2 separate regions of the Homo sapiens genome follow, and region 2 is linked to region 1. The links are contacts of gene promoters, found by promoter capture Hi-C in human tissues and cell types (Jung and others, 2019). All regions are on one chromosome and are shown on one strand. The core of a region is centred on a gene start or on the middle of the fragment in contact, and the rest is flanking DNA. Distances in the headings are between cores, read along the strand shown. Region 1 holds the start of CTSS (cathepsin S). Region 2 overlaps GOLPH3L (golgi phosphoprotein 3 like).

The links. The method cuts DNA at HindIII sites, captures the fragments that hold promoters and counts their contacts. A contact is called where the count stands out against the background at its distance.
Region 2: a contact is called between a fragment that was not itself captured here and the fragment with the promoter of CTSS in region 1, in 2 of the 25 tissues and cell types used here (IMR-90 fibroblasts and liver).

What each region holds. Positions count from the first base shown.
Region 1 is chr1:150,764,528-150,768,348 of GRCh38, forward strand. It overlaps CTSS (cathepsin S), which reads right to left and starts at 1,251. Exons shown (of 8, transcript NM_004079.5): 1 at 1,171-1,251; 2 at 111-237. The coding sequence starts at 236. RefSeq lists enhancers at 142-191, 1,122-1,266, 1,125-1,269 and cis regulatory regions at 1,194, 1,197. The HindIII fragment of the contact is 11,511 bases long and covers 1-3,821 here.
Region 2 is chr1:150,686,007-150,690,135 of GRCh38, forward strand. The region is part of intron 2 of GOLPH3L (golgi phosphoprotein 3 like); the gene reads right to left. Among named protein-coding and RNA genes, the nearest start is that of GOLPH3L, 9.1 kb to the right of the region's middle. The HindIII fragment of the contact is 5,683 bases long and covers 1-4,092 here.

The DNA.
Region 1 (3,821 bases), core at 1-2,500:
ACACCCAGCTTAAATATTTACTGAAAACACTGCCTGTAAGAACACAATTTTAAGAGGTAGAAAACAGTACTCCTTTAAAAGCATATCGCTCGAGTGGCAATCCAATCTACCTTTTCCTTGTATTGTTTGCCATAGGTTTTCTTCCAGAGATGCCAGTGGTGATCCAGGGTAGGATCTTTATGCAACTGTGCCACTGCAGAGGAGCACACCAAGAGCACACAAACCAGCCGTTTCATTCTGTGTAAGGAAAGGTAACATAGGAAGTGTTGCTATTAGCTGCATATGTTGTGACCACATGTTTTCATAAGAGAAAATAACAATGCAAAGTCTATCAAAGGGACAGACTATTATAAACAGAATTATACAGGAAAATTCCTGGGATATATAGTCACAGGGAACAGCTGCAGATTTATGTCAGAAATACTACTTCCAATGCTTAGTAGCACTTTAAAAAGTGATTTCCAGGAATTTCCCAATATCTGGTAAACCAAACACATCTAGAGGGTTAGAAAACAGGGACTTTCCAGGATTTGCCAACAAATCTAATCAAAGGAAATCTCTTTCTCTCTCTCTCAAAAAAAAAAAAAAATCATCCTTAAGAGAGACAAACCTCTGAAAAATCAGTTTATCTCCTGAATTTTTGAATACATGGGCTCTTCTTAACTGACCTGTTTAAATATCCACAGTCTTTACAGATAGTTAAAAGACAATTCTCATCTATTGCTTTCACATCTTTAGGTAGGTAATTTTCCTTTTTACGTTTTTTTTTTTTTAATGATCAGACATCTGTTTCAAATGAGGCAATTAACTACTCTTTAAAATGCCACTTCTGTATTTAATTCAAGAGACATCAACAGAAATTCAGCGACTAGCTCCCTCAAACTGGATTCTACTTTCTTTTCCATTTCTTTTTAATTGAAAACATCTGGAATTTTAAACATGTAAGCCTTTAAATTATATTCCAAAGAAAGCCATGTTTCAGTCTCAACTTAGATGCTTAGATGCTCAAGCAGACATTAACTTTTTAAAAATAGAGAAGAGGCAAATTGAACGACACGATTTTTTAGTTTACTTCCTGAAACCAAAGATTTAAAACCTAGCAGGCAGAACAAGTTACAAACACAGAGTGTTTGAAGACCAAATGGGAGAAAAAGAACAAAGAGTACATACGTGATAGAACCAGCAGTTGCTCCCACAGTAAGAGTCCTTGAATTAGTGGGCTCTCTTCTAAGATTTCAAAGCAACAAGGAGATTTCAGTTCAATTGACTTGAAAAGAAATTGGAACTTGTCACATGAGGTACTCAAAATGAGGAAGTGAACTTTCATTTCAGTTTCATTTAAAATCTAGCTAGTACAGTCACCTCTAGTCATTTCCCTATGGTCTTGGGGACAAAGTGGATACAGTAAGCCATCAAGAAGAGCCCTTGTCTGAGCCCAGTGGCTCATGCCTATAATCCCAGCACTTTGGGAGGCTGAGGCGGGAGGATCACTTGAGGCCAGGAGTTCAAGACCAGCCTAGGCAATATAGTGAGACCCTGTCTCTGCAAAAAAATTTTTTTTAATTAGCTGGGCATGGTGGTGCATGCTTGTAGTCCCAGCTGAGGGGGAGGGTGAGGTGGGAGAATTGCTTGAGTCTAGGAGGACAAGGCTGCAGTGAGCCATGATTATGCCACTGTGTTTCAGCCTGGATGACATATCAAGACCCTATCTCAAAAAAAAAATTAAATTGAATTTTAAAAACACCAACTTTTACATGGAAAACATTTAGTTATAAAGAGATTTAGATAAAGCTCCCCAAATCCCAGCTCCTTGTATGATTTCCTAGGAAAACCTGTCTTACTGCTTTTAACACAACTCATTCATGATCTGATATTGTCTGGTTCTCACTCAGCCATTCCTTCGTTCATCAAACTCAAAATGTCTTTATTAATATATACTATATGTATAGTTTAGTAATATGCGTGTGTGTGTGTGTGTGTGTGTGTATGTGTTAGTATATTCATGGAAAAAAGGATACACTCAAATATATCCAATTGAGAATGATTACCTGGGTGGGGTGGGAGCAAGACGAACTATCATCTTTTAAATTTGCATTTTCCTAATTACTAATGAGGTTGAGGATCTTTTCACACATTTATTGACCGTTTGAATTTTCTGTGAATTTCCTGTTCATCTTTTTTGCTCATTTTTCTATTGTATTGTTGCATTTTCTTAGTGATTTGTGGGAGGTGTGTGTGTGTGTGTGTGTTGTGTGTTTTCCGAGACGGAGTCGTGCTTTGTCTCCCATGCTGGAGTGCATTGGTGCGATCTTGGCTCACTGCAACATCCACCTCCCAGGTTCAAGCGATTCTCTGCCTCAGACTCCCAAGTAGCTGGGATTACAGGCACCTGCCAGCATGTCCAGCTAATTTTTGTATTTTTAGTAGAGACAGGGTTTCACCATCTTGGCCAGGCTGGTCTTGAACTCTTCACCTCGTGATCCACCCGCCTCAGCCTCCCAAAGTGCTGGGATTACAGGTGTGAGCCACCGTGCCCGGCCAAGGTGTATGTGTTTTAAAAATATATTCTGGCTTCTAATCTTTGACAGTTATATACCCTTAAAAACATCCTCCCTTAGTCTTCCACTTGTCTTTTATTTTATTTTTTCTTCCTTTGCATAAGCCTATGAAATTCCACTTGTCCTTTAGTCTTGTTTATAGTGAGTTTTTCTATATGAAATTTTTTTATGTTGAGGTAGAACATTTTATTCAGCTTTTCCGTATAATCAATCTATACTGTTTTTGTATAAGAAAATTTTCCTCATCCAAATGTAATAAAGATACACTCATCTTATTTTTATACTTTCAGAGAGTGTTTTATTTATCTTTTCTATGGCTACTGCTTTTAGGTGTTTAATTCACCTGGAATTTAGTTTTGTGTATGGTATGACGTAGGGAGCTTATTTTCTTTGTTTTCCAATTTTGATTCTACCTCTATTGTACACCAAATTCTCATACATAGATAGGTCAGTTTCTGAGCTCATGAAGCTGTTCTTTTTATCTTTTGCTACTTCAGTATCACACAGTTTTAATTAAAACAGCTTTGTAATATGTCTCCACGTATGGTAAGGCAAGTCATCTAGGCCACCCTATCTTTGTTCTTCTTTTTAAACATTGTCTTTGTATTTTGTACTTGTTAACTCTTCTTTATATGAATTTTTTGAATCAGTTTATCAAGTTCCCTGAAAAACTCTGTTGGAGTTTTTTGCTTTTTTCTTTTGGAGACAGGGTTTCATTCTGTCACCCAGGCTGGAGTGCAGTGATGCAATCATGGCTCACTGCAGCCTTGACCTCCTGGGCTCAAGTGATCCTCCCGCCTCAGCCTCTGGAGTGGCTGGGACTACAGGTGCACACCACCATGCCTGGCTGATTTTGTTTTTTGTTTTTTGTAGATAAGGGGTTTCACCATGTTGCCCAGGCTGGCCTCAAACTCCTGGGCTCAAGCAATCTGCCCACCTTGGCCTCCTGAAGTGCTGGGATTACAGGCATGAGCCCCCACATCTGGCTATTAGAGTTTTTATTTGAATATATGCATAAATTTAGGGAGAAGTAACATCATTATAATGTTGATTCATCTCAGCTGTAGTAGACATGTTTGTGTTTGTAGCCATACAGTTTTTTTTAAAAAGATACTGCTTATGGAAAATTTAAAACACATGTAAAAGTAAAAATAGTAGTAAAATGAGCTGCCGTGAAACCATTGTCTTGTTTCAACAATGATCAGTACATGGCCAATCTTATTTTATTTATATTCCCACTCTCACTACCTGAATTATATTAAA
Region 2 (4,129 bases), core at 1-2,500, 79 kb before region 1:
TGAGATTACAGGTGCGTGCCACCACACCCGGCTAATTTTTGTATTTTTAGTAAAGATGGGGTTTTACCATATTGGCCAGGCTGGTCTTGAATTCCTAACCTCATGATCTGCCTGCCTTGGCCTCCCAAAGTGCTAGGATTACAGGCGTGAGCTACCGCACCCAGCCAGCATGTCCTTTTTAAACTGCAAAGTCAGATATTTGTTTTTGTTTTGTTTTTCCTGTTTTGAGACAGAGTCGTGCTCTGTGGCCCAGGCTGGAGCACAGTGGTGTGATCATAGCTCAATGCAGCTTCGAACTCCTGGGCTCAAGTGATCCTCTCACCTCAACCTCCTGAGTAGCTGGGACTATAGGTTCACGCAGGGCTGTTTTCATTTTTTTGTAGAGATTGGGTCTCATTTTGTTGCCCTGGCTTGTCTTGAACTCCTGGCCTGAAGTAATCCTCCCATTTTGGCCTCCCAAACTGCTGGGAATACAGGCAGTGAAACACCACGCCCAGTTGCAGAGTCAGTTTGAATGTAAATTCCACAATTTATTGCCCAAATGATCATTTAACTTTGACTCCTATAAAGAGAATGATACCTGCCTTGCAGGATTAAACAATAGAAACTGCAAAATGTTTTGAAAATAAATTATACAAACAAAATATGGAGGCAAAAGTGATGAAATGGCTGACAGCAAGTTTATAGGCACAGTGGTTACAGCCAAAATCCCAAATTCAAGTGGGCAGCTTTGTCTCAATATCAATACTAGATATTTTATATTTTGGGAGAGTACTGTGTGCATTTGGGGATTGGAAGAATTAGGGAGAAGATCTTAATGAAATAGCTTAAGCTATATTTTCCTACTATTAAAACAGGTCTTTGGTCTTCCAGTTTATTTCCTTTTATACCAATAGTAAATAGTTATTTGGGGTTAATATGCCTGGATATAATAAAAAACAAAAGTTAATTTTTTTAACAGCTTATGTTTAAAGAAAAAAACCTGACAAACAAGCCCTTCTGATACAGTTGCCCTATTCACAATCGCAGTAGCTACTGGGAGACTTATTGTTCATTTTGCGCGATTAGGAAACTAAAAGGAAAGACCAGGTAGTAACTTAAATTAGACTTTTAATTTTTTTTTTTAAGACAAGGTCTTGTTCTTTGCTCGGCCTGCTATTAATATTTTAATTATAATAAAATGCTTTAGGATTGAGTCACTTTTTAAGGCGGCCAATTTTCTTCATTCATAGCCAATAATCAACAAGTTGGACACTGACTGACTGTGACTGATTTTAAAAACCTTTTTGGGCTGGGCGTGGTGGCTCACATCTGTAATCCCAGCACTTTGGGAGGTCGAGGCAGGCGGATCACCTGAGGTCAGGAGTTCGACACCAGCCTGGCTAACGTGGTAAAACCCCGTTTCTACTAAAAATACAAAAAATTAGCCGGGCGTGGTGGTGCATGCCTGTAATCCCAGCTACTTGGGAGGCTGACACAGGAGAATTGAACGCGGGAGGCAGAGGTTGCGGTGAGCCAAGATCGTGCCACTACACTCTAGCTTAGGTAACAAGAGCGAAACTCTGTCTCAAAAAAAAAACAAAAAAAAACTTTTTGATTAGTGAATTTTTTTTACCAGCTTTAAAGAAGCTTTTACTTCTAATCTCCTATTGCTAATAAAGATGAACTATACTTGATGGAGGATCATCAGCAGCTTGAAAAAGCGTAGCATTAACATACTTTATAATTAAAAATACATATGAATTTCATACGTATAATTCCCATACGTATAGTGGATAACAGTAGATTGTTTGAAAAAAGATAACTGACAAGTACCAGGAGAATTTTAGCAGCACTGTTCATAATGAACTCTTGAATGTGCATTAACCCATAGAATGAATAGTGGTATATTCATGTAATGAAATATTAATCAGGATGAACTGGATTAAACTATATGCAACAACATGGACAAATCTCACAAACATTATATTGATCAAAAGAATACATTAAAATATTAACCCAATAAAATAGAGTTTAAAAACAGGCAAAACTAAAATATATTGTTTAGGGATATACATACATGTCAAAACTACAGGGAAGTGGGCAGCATGTGATTAGGGGCAGGCATAAGAGAAGCCTTCCAGGATGCTGATATTGTTCTATTGGTGATTACATGACTGTTGGCTTTCAAACTACTTGTTAAACTGTATATATGTGCTTTATACAATTTTCTGGATACACTGTATTTCACAATTTTAGAAAACTTAAACAATAAAGCATGTAACTGGATGTTCAGCTCTCATACTTCAGTTTTAAAACACTGGAGTTCATTAAAAGGAGATGGGATGCTTTCAGACATCTGTGGTTATTCCAGTTGCACATCACTGAAATTATTAGGAACATCCAGTTGATGTTCTTTTTTCCTAGAACCTGTCTCTTTACAGACTAACTCACTCTTATTCCAGTTAAGAGTTATTACCTCCTGGCGGGGCGCAGTGGCTCACACCTGTAATCCCAGCACTTTGGGAGGCCAAGGCAGTTGGATCACCTGAGGTCAGGAATTCAAGACCAGCCTGGCCAACATGGTGAAACCCCGTCTCTACAAAAATACAAAAATTAGCCGGGGATGGTGGCAGGTGCATGTAATACCAGCTACTTGGGAGGCTGAGGAAGCAGAATCGCTTGAATCCGGGAGGTGGAGGTTGCAGTGAGCCAAGATCACGCCACTGCTTTGCAGCCTGGGTGACAGAATGAGATTCTATCTCAAACAAACAAACAACAAAAAAAAGAGTTATCACCTCCTGTAAGTCTTTCCCAACATCTCTTCTTCCCTCTCCTACTGCTCCTTCCCACCACCCATCTGATTTACGTGCTTTTCCTCTGTGTTTCCTTCCTACTCAGAACACACTTATACACATATCACATTGTTCTGAAATGGTCTGCTGACTTTCTGGCTTCTACTCCCAGCATCTCCAACCATCCCTATGCCACTAAACCATAAATTGACCTCAAAAGCAGGGACAATTGTTTTTGTTCTCTCTTTCTATGACATATGAGTCATTCAATAAAATTTTTGGTGATTAAACAAATAAGTGAAAATGTATTGCCATATTTCCAATGGATAATACTTCTTGCCAATTTTTACCACAGTGACATGAGAAATATGATGAAAAGCTTTTCTTTCACAGTAAGTAGTAAGTATTCAATAAATGGCATTACTAGGAGAAAGCTTTCCAAGAAAGAGAGGATGGTTGAAAAACATTATCCACAAATTAAATAGATGAGAAATGAAAAGACCACTAGGAGTCAAAAGCAGTAATTGGCTTACTCCCCTTACAGGTAACTTAAGAAACGATTCTAATAAATGAAAAGTTTTATACATTAGCAAGTCAATTAAAACACTGTTCATGAGTTAATAATCTATATCAAAACTCTTACCAAAGGCAATAATAACAAATAAGCAGATTCCTGATTTCAACAGGAGATAAACCTATTTTATTTTGGTCAGGCTTGTGCTCAATGTTTACTTTCTCAGTTGAGGTCAGTGTTATTGAACTGAGATAGTATCTAATTTTAACTGTGCTTGAAAGGTTATACTCTTCAAATTATATTTAAATTTCTTGATTGTTTTCATAAGACAATGATACTTAATATTTAATTTAATTAGTTTATATTTTTTGAGGCAGTCTTACTCTGTCACCCAGGCTAGAGTGCAGTAGTGTGACCTTGGCTCATTGCAGCCTCTGCCTCTTGGGTTCAAGAGATTCTCCCATCAGCATAGCTAGGATTACAGGTGCATGCCACCACACCCAGCTAATTTTTTTTTTCCTTTAGTAGAGATGGGGTTTCACCATGTTGGCCAGGCTGGTCTCGAACTCCTGGCCTCAAGTGATTTGCCCGCCTCAAACCTCCCAAAGTGCTGGGATTATAGATGTGAGCCACTGCGTCTGGCCAGATGCTTAATATTTTAAAACCAGTCTGTGGTAGTTACCCCTCAGAAGAATTTTTTTTTTTCTTTTAAGACAGGGTCTCACTCTGTCACCCAGGTTGGAGTACAGTGGCACAAACACAGCTCACTCCAGCCTTGAACTCCTGGGCTCAAGCAATCCTCTCGCCTCAATCTCCCAAGTAGCTGAAACTGCAGGTATGT